Linked DNA regions of Homo sapiens: region 2 is linked to region 1. Evidence: promoter capture Hi-C in 16 types of primary human blood cells and fetal thymus (Javierre and others, 2016). All regions are on one chromosome and are shown on one strand. Each heading gives the region's core, a stretch centred on a gene start or on the middle of the fragment in contact. The rest is flanking DNA. Distances are from core to core; before and after follow the strand shown.

What was found. Contacts are between HindIII fragments. The CHiCAGO score rates a contact against its expected background, and 5 or more counts as called.
Region 2: a contact is called between a fragment that was not itself captured here and the fragment with the promoter of MAN2B1 in region 1, in 1 of 17 cell types (M0 macrophages). The highest score is 5.0, in M0 macrophages.

Annotation. Positions count from the first base shown.
Region 1 is chr19:12,662,600-12,668,197 of GRCh38, reverse strand. It overlaps MAN2B1 (mannosidase alpha class 2B member 1), which reads left to right and starts at 1,456. Exons shown (of 24, transcript NM_000528.4): 1 at 1,456-1,655; 2 at 2,393-2,495; 3 at 2,673-2,846; 4 at 3,213-3,406; 5 at 4,363-4,495; 6 at 4,736-4,881. The coding sequence starts at 1,497. It overlaps WDR83 (WD repeat domain 83), which reads right to left and starts at 1,391. Exons shown (of 11, transcript NM_001099737.3): 1 at 1,206-1,391. WDR83OS (WD repeat domain 83 opposite strand) reads left to right here. Exons shown (of 4, transcript NM_016145.4): 4 at 1-125. RefSeq lists a silencer at 1,314-1,593 and enhancers at 1,844-1,973, 1,994-2,123, 2,184-2,233, 2,774-2,823, 1,890-2,837 and 2 more. The HindIII fragment of the contact is 17,009 bases long and covers 1-3,916 here.
Region 2 is chr19:11,579,510-11,585,107 of GRCh38, reverse strand. It overlaps LOC124904638 (a long non-coding RNA gene), which reads right to left. Exons shown (of 2, transcript XR_007067140.1): 2 at 1,444-1,691. Among named protein-coding and RNA genes, the nearest start is that of ACP5, 4.7 kb to the right of the region's middle. RefSeq lists enhancers at 1,014-1,073, 1,084-1,223, 3,125-3,324 and a silencer at 2,824-2,989. The HindIII fragment of the contact is 1,557 bases long and covers 3,188-4,744 here.

The sequences.
Region 1 (5,598 bases), core at 207-2,706:
ACCCTAGGCTTACCCCTCCTGCCTCCCTTCCCCTGCCTGCTGCTGGGGGAGATGCTGTCCATGTTTCTAGGGGTATTCATTTGCTTTCTCGTTGAAACCTGTTGTTAATAAAGTTTTTCACTCTGGCTGTCAGCCTCTTCTGTTCAGTGGGGTGTTCCTCCTACCTGGCGGGAAGGGCTCTAGCCCCATAGGCCTGGTGTGGGGCCCCAGTCTGGAGGCTTCTGGCTGTTCATTTGCTTACTTCATAAACCTTGTGTCTTAAGTCAGGTGCTAGGGACAAGACAGTGACTTCTGCCCTCTGGCAACTCACCAGATGGCCCTGCTGACCTAGATAATCTAGGCTTTGGTTTCCTTTTTTTTTTTTCCTTTTTAAGAAAGAAAATGGTCTTGATCTGTCATGCAGGCTGAGTGCAGTGGCACAATCTATGTTCACTGCAGCCTCAAACTCCTGGGCTCAAGCAATCCTCCCACCTCAGCCTGCCACGTAACTGGGACCACAAATGCGTGCTACCATGCCCAGTTAATTCTTGTTTTTTTTGAGACAGAGTTTTGCTCTTGTTGCCCAGGCTGGAGGGCAATGGCATGATCTTGATCTCGGCTCACTGCAACCTCCGCCTCCCAGGTTCAAGTGATTCTCCTGCCTCAGTCTCCCAAGTAGCTGGGATTACAGGCATGTGCCACCATGCCCAGCTAATTTTTGTATTTTTACATTTTGTGTAAAATTACAAATTTTGTGTTTTCAAACCCGTCTCTACAAAACAACCCATGTTGCCCAGGCTGGTCTCAAACTCCCAGGCCCAAGTGATTCACCAGCCTGGCCCTCCCAAAGTGCTGGGATTGCAGGCTTGAGCCACTGCGCCTGCCCTGGGCTTTGTTTTCTTATCAGAGAATGAACTGGTAGGAATTGGGAAAGGCATGAAAGACTCGGGGTCCTTCCCCACTTGTCAGACCCTCTTTTCTCTCCGGAACACCCAGGGATCCTTCTCAACCAGGCTGGATCCCATCCCTGGTACTCCAGGGGTATTTACCCAACGTCCCAATCCCCACAGTATAGGACTCTTCATCAGATCCTCCTCTTAGGCAAGCTAGGTCCTTCCAGGACCCTAGCGCTGAAGGTCCATGGGACGGACACCCTGGATTCCCATGGACACACTACACCGGCTAGGAAAACCCGGCCCCCTTAGGAAAAGCACTTCTGCTCCTACCGGCATTAAGAGGCATTCCGTCTTGGAATTCCGGCATTAAGAGGCATTCCGTCTTCATAGCCCGTGAGACGCCAGTGTCACCTTTAGCCCAACCAGTGCCCTGAGGGTGGCATTTTCCTACCTTCCTGTAACGACCCCCGGGATTGCCCAGGGCTACAGCCTCTCTCCCGTGAGCCTCCAGACCGCGCCCTGGCCCCGCCCCCCACCCCGATTGGCCCGGCCGGGTCTGGGGGCGGGGCGTTTGCCCGGCCTTTCCAGGGCCGGGGAACCCCAGGAGGAAGCTGCTGAGCCATGGGCGCCTACGCGCGGGCTTCGGGGGTCTGCGCTCGCGGCTGCCTGGACTCAGCAGGCCCCTGGACCATGTCCCGCGCCCTGCGGCCACCGCTCCCGCCTCTCTGCTTTTTCCTTTTGTTGCTGGCGGCTGCCGGTGCTCGGGCCGGGGGATACGAGGTGAGTGGGGCCTCCGAGCTGAAACGTACAGGAGGCAGAGTGAAACCCAGAATACAGTCTAGAGGTGTGGGTGGGTCTGTCCTGTGGGTGTCTAGTGAATGGCTGATGATATGACAGTGTGGTCTGAGTGCGTGCTTTGTGTCATTGCGAGGTCTGGCTGTGCGCATCTGAGTATAGGACTGTGTCTGATTGTACCTGCCTCCGTGTCTCCGGGATGCTTGCCTAGACTTTGTCTGCACTTAACTGTGGGATTGGAGGGGCAGGAGGTGGCAGGGGGTGAGCAGTGTATGTGTGGGGGGAGGTGCTGGCTGAGAGCTGGGACTCTGGAGTCTGCCTGAAATTCCAGCCTAGCTCTTACACTTCCTGAGTGTGTGACGTTGGGCAAGTCACCTATCCTCTCTAAGCCTCAGTGCCTTCATCTGGAAACTGGGGATAACATCACCCCACCTCCCACGGTGGCCGTCTGCTGTCGGCAAATGCTGAACAAACATCAGCTACTTCTATTATTATTTTCCCGGAGTGTGAATGAGAGCTGCCCTGTGGGGTTGTGCAAAGTGGAGTTGTATCTATGAGCACAACTATGTATGTGTGTGTCCTGCCTGGGAGGGCCTGGCCTCCTCTGCACATAGGCGAGATCAGGCCTCTCTGAGTCACTCACCTCTAGATCAAGACTTACTCTGCAGCCCCCGACCTCGGGGGTTATTGACAAGGTATGTGTGTTTGGGGTCCCTGTGCAGACATGCCCCACAGTGCAGCCGAACATGCTGAACGTGCACCTGCTGCCTCACACACATGATGACGTGGGCTGGCTCAAAACCGTGGACCAGTACTTTTATGGAAGTGAGTAGAGGATGGGGACTGGTCCCTGGGATCCCCATGGTCCCTGTAATCCCTCTGGGTCCTGGACATTAGGGTGGGGCCAGTGCTACCCTAATATCCAGGGTTTGGGCTCCTCTGTCTAGGAATAACCCCCTTGGCTCTGCTGTTCCCTGAGAGCCTTATCCCTGTTATCCACAGTCAAGAATGACATCCAGCACGCCGGTGTGCAGTACATCCTGGACTCGGTCATCTCTGCCTTGCTGGCAGATCCCACCCGTCGCTTCATTTACGTGGAGATTGCCTTCTTCTCCCGTTGGTGGCACCAGCAGACAAATGCCACACAGGAAGTCGTGCGAGACCTTGTGCGCCAGGGTGAGCCTACCCCAAGGAAGTGAAAAGAGGAAGCCCAGCCCAGCTTCTGCTTCTGCATCTCTGGTTTCTGAGATTTGTCATGCCACGTGCAAGCTGTATAACATGCGTGTCGCTCCGCCTGCCTGGACTCTCCATTTGGAGACCTCCTATACATCCCACAAAGCCCCACCTGCTGTGCATCCTCTGGGAAGCCTGCCATGCAGGGGGCCTCTTTCCCATATCTGGGAACTATGGCCTGGGAGCGACCCCTCTTGTCCTTCCGCCAGAAATGTGTACACAGGCAGGCTTTCACATTCCCAGTATCACCCACCCTACTCCCACTCCTGGCTCTGACCGCTGACCCTGACCTTGCCTGTCCTGGCACAGGGCGCCTGGAGTTCGCCAATGGTGGCTGGGTGATGAACGATGAGGCAGCCACCCACTACGGTGCCATCGTGGACCAGATGACACTTGGGCTGCGCTTTCTGGAGGACACATTTGGCAATGATGGGCGACCCCGTGTGGCCTGGCACATTGACCCCTTCGGCCACTCTCGGGAGCAGGCCTCGCTGTTTGCGCAGGTGCGACCCGGGACCTCTCTTGGGCCCACTTCTTCACTCACTCTGGCTCCTCCCTCGCCCAGTCAAACCCCGCCCTCTCCCTGCAATCTCACAAGGACCAGGCCCAGGCCTAGGCCTGTTGAAGCCCTGCCCCTTGAGTGAGCCGTAAAGCCAGTGGCTTTTGAGCTCTGGCCTCAGCCGGCTATGCCCAGCCCAGGCTGACCCAGCTCCGGCTGGCTCCGCCCTCTCCCCTAATAGGCCCCTCTTGGTGTTCTGGCCCCACCCACTAGCTCGGGTCCTGGCTCCTCCCTAAACCGGGTGGCAAGTGGATGCCTAGGCTGCCTTAAAAACAGGTTCATTACCTGTGCTCAGACCCCATCCATCCTCAGGCTGTGGAAGGGGGAACCTCATTCCTGGAGTCAGGCCTGCTCTGCGCTTTGACAGTGCTGGGGAGGTGAACCTGGGTTCTGATGTTGGACCCGCCCTCTCCCTGCTAGCCCAAGGTGGTGAGTTCTGAAACTTCCCCAAGCTTGGAAATAAGCTGGAGGCCTCTCTGTTTCAGCCCTACGTGTTTTTGTTTTTGTTTTTTGAGACAGGGTCTTGCTGTCATCCAGGCTGGAGTGCAGTGGTGCAATCCTAACTCACTATAGCCTCAATCTCCCGGATTCAAGCGATTCTCCTGTCTCAGCCCCCCTAGTAGATGAGACTACAAGAGCGCACCACTACGCCTGGCTAATTTTTAAATTTTTTGTAGACAGTCTGCCCGTGTTGTGCAGGCTGGTCTCAAAAACTCCTGGGTTTAAGTGATCCTCCTGTTTTGGCCTCCCAGAAGGCTGGGATCATAGGCAAGAGCCACCACATCGACCTAGCACTGCTTTTTAACCTGTGCTCTGACCTGCCCCTCCCAAGCAGAGGGGAGTTTGGTGGTGAGAGGGCTGGGCACTAATTCACACTGCCTTTTCCTCCCTCATCCCCAGATGGGCTTCGACGGCTTCTTCTTTGGGCGCCTTGATTATCAAGATAAGTGGGTACGGATGCAGAAGCTGGAGATGGAGCAGGTGTGGCGGGCCAGCACCAGCCTGAAGCCCCCGACCGCGGACCTCTTCACTGGTAGGGGGCTTGGTGAGGGCAGGGCCAGCCATGGTGCCACACACTCAGAAGGGCCCTGGGCTTGATATCTGCTCTGTTGTCACTGTCCTGGAATTCCTATAGTCTGGGAACAAAGGCCCTGCATTTCCTTTTGCATTGGGACACAAATTCTGAAGCCCATCCTGGGTGGGACATGGCCGGCTTTGAAACCAGGGAAGGTCTGGGTGATGGGCCACCCCTTGAACTTGGTGTGACCTGCAGGTGTGCTTCCCAATGGTTACAACCCGCCAAGGAATCTGTGCTGGGATGTGCTGTGTGTCGATCAGCCGCTGGTGGAGGACCCTCGCAGCCCCGAGTACAACGCCAAGGAGCTGGTCGATTACTTCCTAAATGTGGCCACTGCCCAGGTAACCCTGGTGTCCAGAACCTTCGAGTCCGGTATATACAATACAATGAGCTCTTTCCATGGTACAGGCATCCCCTAACACGTTCTCCTTATTTTTAATTTTTTTGAGACAGTCTTACTCTGTCACCCAGGCTGGAGTGCAGTGGTGCGATCTCGGCTCACTGCAACCTCTGCCTCCTGGGTTCAAACAAGCACATCCAGCTAATTTTTGTATTTTTGCACTGGGGTCTCATCATGTTGTCCAGGCTGGTCTCAAACTCCTGAGCTCAAGTGATCTGCTTGCCTCGGCCTCCCAAAGTGCCGGGATTACAGGCATGAGCCACCGCACCTGGCCTCTATTTTTAACATTTTTATTTATTTATTATTATTTTTTTTTTTTTGAGACAGAGTCTTGCTCTGTCACCCAGGCTGGAGTGCAGTGGCATGATCTCAGCTCACTGCAACCTCCGCCTCCCGGGTTCAAGCGATTCTCCTGCCTCAGCCTCCTAAGAAGCTGGGATTAGAGGCACCTGCCACCACACCCAGCTAATTTTTGTATTTTTAGTAGACAGGGTTTCGTCATGTTGACCAGGCTGGTCTTGACCTCAGGTGATCTGCCCGCCTCAACCTCCCAAAGTGCTGGGATTACAGGTGTGGGCCACTGTGCCTAGTCTATTTTTAACATTTTTATTGAGAATTCCTTTTTTATTTTTTTTAGACTCACTCTGTCGCCCAGGCT
Region 2 (5,598 bases), core at 2,717-5,216, 1.1 Mb after region 1:
CAGCACCTTGGGAGGCCAAGGCAGGCGGATCACAAGGTCAGGAGATCCAGACCATCCTTACTAACATGGTGAAACCCCGTCTCTACTAAAAAATACAAAAAATTAGCTGGGCGTGGTGGCGGGCACCTGTAGTCCCAGCTACTTGGGAGGCTGAGGCAGGAGAATGGCGTGAACCCGGGAGGCGGAGCTTGCAGTGAGCCAAGATCGCGCCACTGCACTCCAGCCTGGGTGATGGAGCAAGACTCTGTCTCAAATAATAATAATAATAATAATTTAGATGGGGTCTCACTGTGTCACCCAGGCTTGTCTCAAACTCCTGGGCTCCAGTGATCCACCCACCTCAACCTCCCAAAGTGCTGGGATTACAGGTGTGAGCCACCACACCCGGCCTATTATTATTATTTGAGACAGTCTTGCTCTTGTCGCCCAGGCTGGAGTGCAGTGGCACGATCTTGGCTCACTGCAACCTCTGCTTCCCGGGTTCAAGCGATTCTCCTGCCTCAGCCTCCCGAGTAGCTGGGATTACAGGTGGCTGCCACCACGCCCAGCTAATTTTTTTTGTATTTTTAGTAGAGATGGGGTTTCACCTTGTTGGTCAGGCTGGTCTCAAACACCTGACCTCAGGTGATCCGCCCACCTCAGCCTCCCAAAGTGCTGGGATTACAGGCGTGAGCCACTGCTCCTGGCCCTGTCTTTTAATTTTTAAAGGGTAGGGGGCACCATGACCCATCTTTGCCCACCTAAACCACCTATTCAGCAGCCCATGCCCCGCAGCCCACAGCTGGGGGACATCATGCAAAATCTAAGTCAGATCTGTCCCTCTGATCAGAACCCTCTGTGGCTCCCACCTTACCCAGATAAAAGCCCCCTTCCCTGCAGCCCCCAAGAGCACACGCAACCTGCCCCACCCACACCCTTCTCTGTTCCTTGCCCTTGACCTTGCAGACTCAACCTTCCGGATTCACTTCCCCCTTGCTCACTCTGCTCCAGCCACAAAAGCCAATTTTTGGTTCCTCAAATCAAACTAACTCATGACAGCATTTTGAATTTTGAAGCCTTGGGGCCCCGAAAAAGTCCATCTTTTTTTTTTTTTTTTAAGATCGAGTCTCACTGTGTTGCCCAGGCTGGAGTGCGGTGGTGTGATCTCGACTCACTGCAACCTCTGCCTCCCTGGTTCAAGCAATTCTCCGGCCTCAGCCTCCCAAGTAGCTGGGATTACAGGTGCTCGCTGCCATGCCCAGCTAATTTTTTTGTATTTTAGTAGAGAAAGGGTTTCACCTTGTTGCCTAGGCTGATCTTGAACTCCTGAACTCAGGCAATCTGTCTGCCTCAGCCTCCCAAAGTGCTGGGATTACAGGCGTGAGCCACTGCGCCCGGCCCAAAAATCCATCTTTGTGGGTTCCTTTGTAAATGTGTAGTCAATTTAGAAATTTAGAAACACGGTTTCCCTTAAGCCTTTATTTAGTTACAATCACAACTAACATGTTACTTATACACCTGGCAAAGTGAAACATCAAAAAATTAATTCAGGGCCTGGCCTCAGGCCTGTAATCCCAGCACTTTGGGATGCCAAGGCAGACGGATCACTTGAGGTCAGGAGAATCGCTTGAACCTGGGAGACGGAGGTTGGGACGAGCTGAAGATCACACCACTGCGCTCCAGCTTGGGTGACAGAGTGAGTGAGACTCCATCTCAACAAAAAGAAAAAGAAATATCACTTTAAGAGGTCATTGGATGCATATTTGGGTCCGTTTATAAGTTTAGTGGATTGAAATTAACATTTTACATTTTATAAGTGTGATGCATTTTATTCTATACTCTTTTACTACTATAATAATAATTATTATTATTAATTTTTTTTTTGAGATGGAGTCTCGCTCTGTCACCCAAGCCGGATGGAGTGCAGTGGCGCGATCTTGGCTCACTGCAAGCTCCACCTCCCAGGTTCATGCCATTCTCCTGCCTCAGCCTCCCGAGTAGCTGGGACTACAGGCGCCCACCACCACGCCCAGCTAATTTTTTTGTATTTTTAGTAGAGACGGGGTTTCACCGTGTTAGCCATGTTGCTCTCGATCTCCTGACCTCGTGATCCGCCCGCCTCGGCCTCCCAAAGTGATGGGATTACAGGCGTGAGCCACTGCGCCCGGTCAATTATTATTATTTTTTAGAGACAGTGTATCAGCTCTGTCACCCAGACTGGAGTGCAGTGGTGCAATCATGGCTCACTGCAGCCTCGACCTCCTGAGCAATGCTCCCACCTCAGCCTCCTGAGTAGCTGGGCTACAGGTGCACACAACCACGCCCAGCTAATTTTATTTTTAAGAGATGAGGTCTCTACAAAAAGTGTTGGGATGACAGGTGTGAGCCACTGTGCCAGCTTATTCTTTAATCTTTTAATTTATTATTATTATTTTTTGAGACAGAGTCTTGCTCTACCACCCAGGCTAGAGTGCAATGGTGCGATCTCAGCTCACTGCAACCTCTGCCTCCCGGGTTCAAGCGATTCTCCTGCCTCAGCCTCCTGAGTAGCTGGGACTACAGGCACGTGCCACCACACCCAGGTAATTTTTTGTATTTATAGTAGAGATGGGGTTTCACCATGTTAGCCAGGATGGTCTCGATCTCCTGACCTCTTGATCCACCCGCCTCGGCCTCCCAAAGTGCTGGGATTACAGGCATGAGCCACTGCACCTGGCCTATTCTTTAATCTTTTTAAATGTCTCCACCAAGCAAACACCTTGAGAAGTCCTTATCAGTTATTAAAAATCTACAATGCAAACATACAAATAAAAGGAGAACAGTAAGTTCTCTTAAACATTCTGATACTACTTCTAAACTTAGCCAATAAACTGAGAATGAATGTTAATTTTTTAAATAAACAGGCCAGGGGCAGTGGTTCACACCTGTAATCCCAGCACTTTGAGGGGCTGAGTTGGGAGGATTGCTTGAACTCAGGAGTTCAAGAGCAGCCTGGACAAGGTGACAAATCCCTCTCTCTACAAAAAATACAAAAATTAGCTGGGTGTGGTGGTGTGTGCCTGTAGTCTCAATCCCCAGGAGGCCAAGGGGTGTGGGAGGATCCCCTGAGCCCAGAAGGTCGAGTCTGCAGTGAGCCGTGATCGCATCACTGGTCTCCAGCCTGGGTGACTCTGTTTTAGAAAAAGAAAAAAGAAAGAAAAAAAAAGCTTTCATTAACTGAAGACAGACTGAAAGCAAGAGAAACTGAAAGCAAGATAAATGAGTGGGTGGTTTTCTCAAGCACTGGTAAGTGCTGCAGAGAAAACTACAGCAACAGGAGAGTCAATGATGGGGGCAGGGTGGTGCATTTCAGATAATTTCAGATAAATTATCTTTTTCTTTTTTTTTTTTTTTTTTTGAGACAGAGTCTCACTCTGTCACCCAGGCTAGAGTACAGTGGCACGATCTTGGCTCACTGCAACCTCCGCCTCCCAGGTTCAAGCAATTCTCCTGCCTCGACCTCCTGAGTAGCTGGGACCACAGGTTTGTGCCACCACGCCCAGCTAATTTCTGTATTTTTAGTAGAGATGGGGTTTCACCATGTTGGCCAGGCTGGTCTCGAACTCCTGGCCTCAAGTGATCCACCCGGCTTGGCTTCCCAAAGTGCTGGGATTACAGGCGTGAGCCACCACGCCCAGACTCATTTCAGATAAATTAAAGGAACTTGAACACAATGGGTGACCTCAGTATCTGACTAAGGAAGACCCTTCCAGGCAGGGAGAACAGAAAGTGCCAAGACCCTGAGGCCAGAGTGTATCTGAGACAGTCAAGCAATGCGGAGGAGGTCAGAGGAGCAAGAAACAGGGAAAGCAGGATTGGCAGGAGGAAGGAAGGGAAGGGATTGGGTAGAGACAGCAGCGGAGAACAGGACCTGGATGTATTGGCAACAGGAGGAACTCACTCGTGGGGTTGTTGACATCTGAGATTGACACTGGTGTTGGGAAAATAGGAAAGGGTGGAGGTGGAGGGAGATTCTGAGTCACAGCCTGATCTAGCTCCACAGAAAATCAGCAGAAGAGAGTTCTCCTGGGTGAATGGAGAGAGAAGAGCTTATTCAGCACCCTGGAGGAGACCAGAGAGAGATAGCCAAGAACGCACAGGTTTTATTACATGCTCTGTGCAAGATCAGGTTTATTTTTTTCATTGTGCTCTCTCTCTCTCTCTCTCTCTCTCTCTGAGACAAGAGTCTAGCTGTGTTGCCCAGGCTGAAGGTCAGTGGTGCATTCGTAGCTTATTGCAGCCTCAAACTCCCAGGCTCAAGCGATCCTCCACCTCAGCTTCCTGAGTAGATGGAACCACAGGTGTGCACCACCATGCCTGGCTAATTTTTTTTTTTTTTTTTTTTTTTTTTGTAGCAATGTGGTCTCGCCACGATGCCCAGGCTGTTCCTGAACTCCCGGGCTCAAGCGATCCTCCCACATTGGCTGGGTTTACAGGCCTGAGCCACCATGCTTGGCCAGCTTTTTCAATTTAAAAAATATAGAAAGTGTTAATACAAATTAAAAAGTTATAAAATAGTGCCAATAGTATCCCATTTTTCCGAAGACAAACATAGGCAGAGAAAAATTAATGGATACTGTCTCTCTGGGCAGGGGTATTACTGGCTATTATAATCTTTTTCTTCGTGCATTCCAGAATTTACCAACTTTTCTACAAAGATCATGTAGCACAATAAGATAATAAACATAATTTTGTGTGATCTCAAAATACAGGAAGCATAGAAGCTTCCAAAACACGCCTGTACCCACCACGTGAAGAAACAGATGTTAACATTTGGTCATAATTGCTTCAGATTTCTTTCTTTTTTTTTTTTTCTGTTTTTTTTTTGGGGGGGACAGAGTCTTGCTCTGTCGCCCAGGCTGGAATGTAGTGGCATGATATTGGCTCAGTGCAACCTCCTCCTCCTGGGTTGGAGTGCAGTGGCATGATCTCAGTTCACTGCAACCTCTGCCTCCTGGGTTCAAGAGAGCACCTCCAGCTAATTTTTGTCTTTTTAGTAGAGACAAGGTTTTGCCATGTTGCCCAGGCTGGTCTGGAACACCTGACCTCAAGTGATCCGCTCACCTCGGCCTCCCAAAGTGCCAGGATTACAGGTGTGAGACACCACACCGGCTAAATAATAAGTTTTTAAAAAAACAGGAGACTGGCCAGGCATGGTGACTCACGCCTGTAATCGCAGAACTTTGGGAGGCTGAGGTGGGCAGATCACCTGAGATCGGGCATTGGAGACCAGCCTGGCCAACATGGAGAAACCCCGTCTCTACTAAAAATACAAAATTAGCCGGGCGTGGTGGTGCGTGCCTGTAATCACAGCTACTAGGGAGGCTGAGGCAGGAGAATCGCTTGTACCCGGGAGGCGGAGGTTGCGTGAGCCAAGATTGCGCCACTGCACTCCAGCCTGGGCAACCAGAATAAAACTGTCTCAAAAAAAAAAAAAACAAAAACAGGCCGGGCGCGGTGGCTCACGCCTGTAATCCCAGCACTTTGGAAGGCCAAGGTGGGTGGATCACGAGGTCAGGAGATCGAAACCATCCTGGCTAACACGGTGAAACCCCGTCTCTACTAAAAAATACAAAAAAT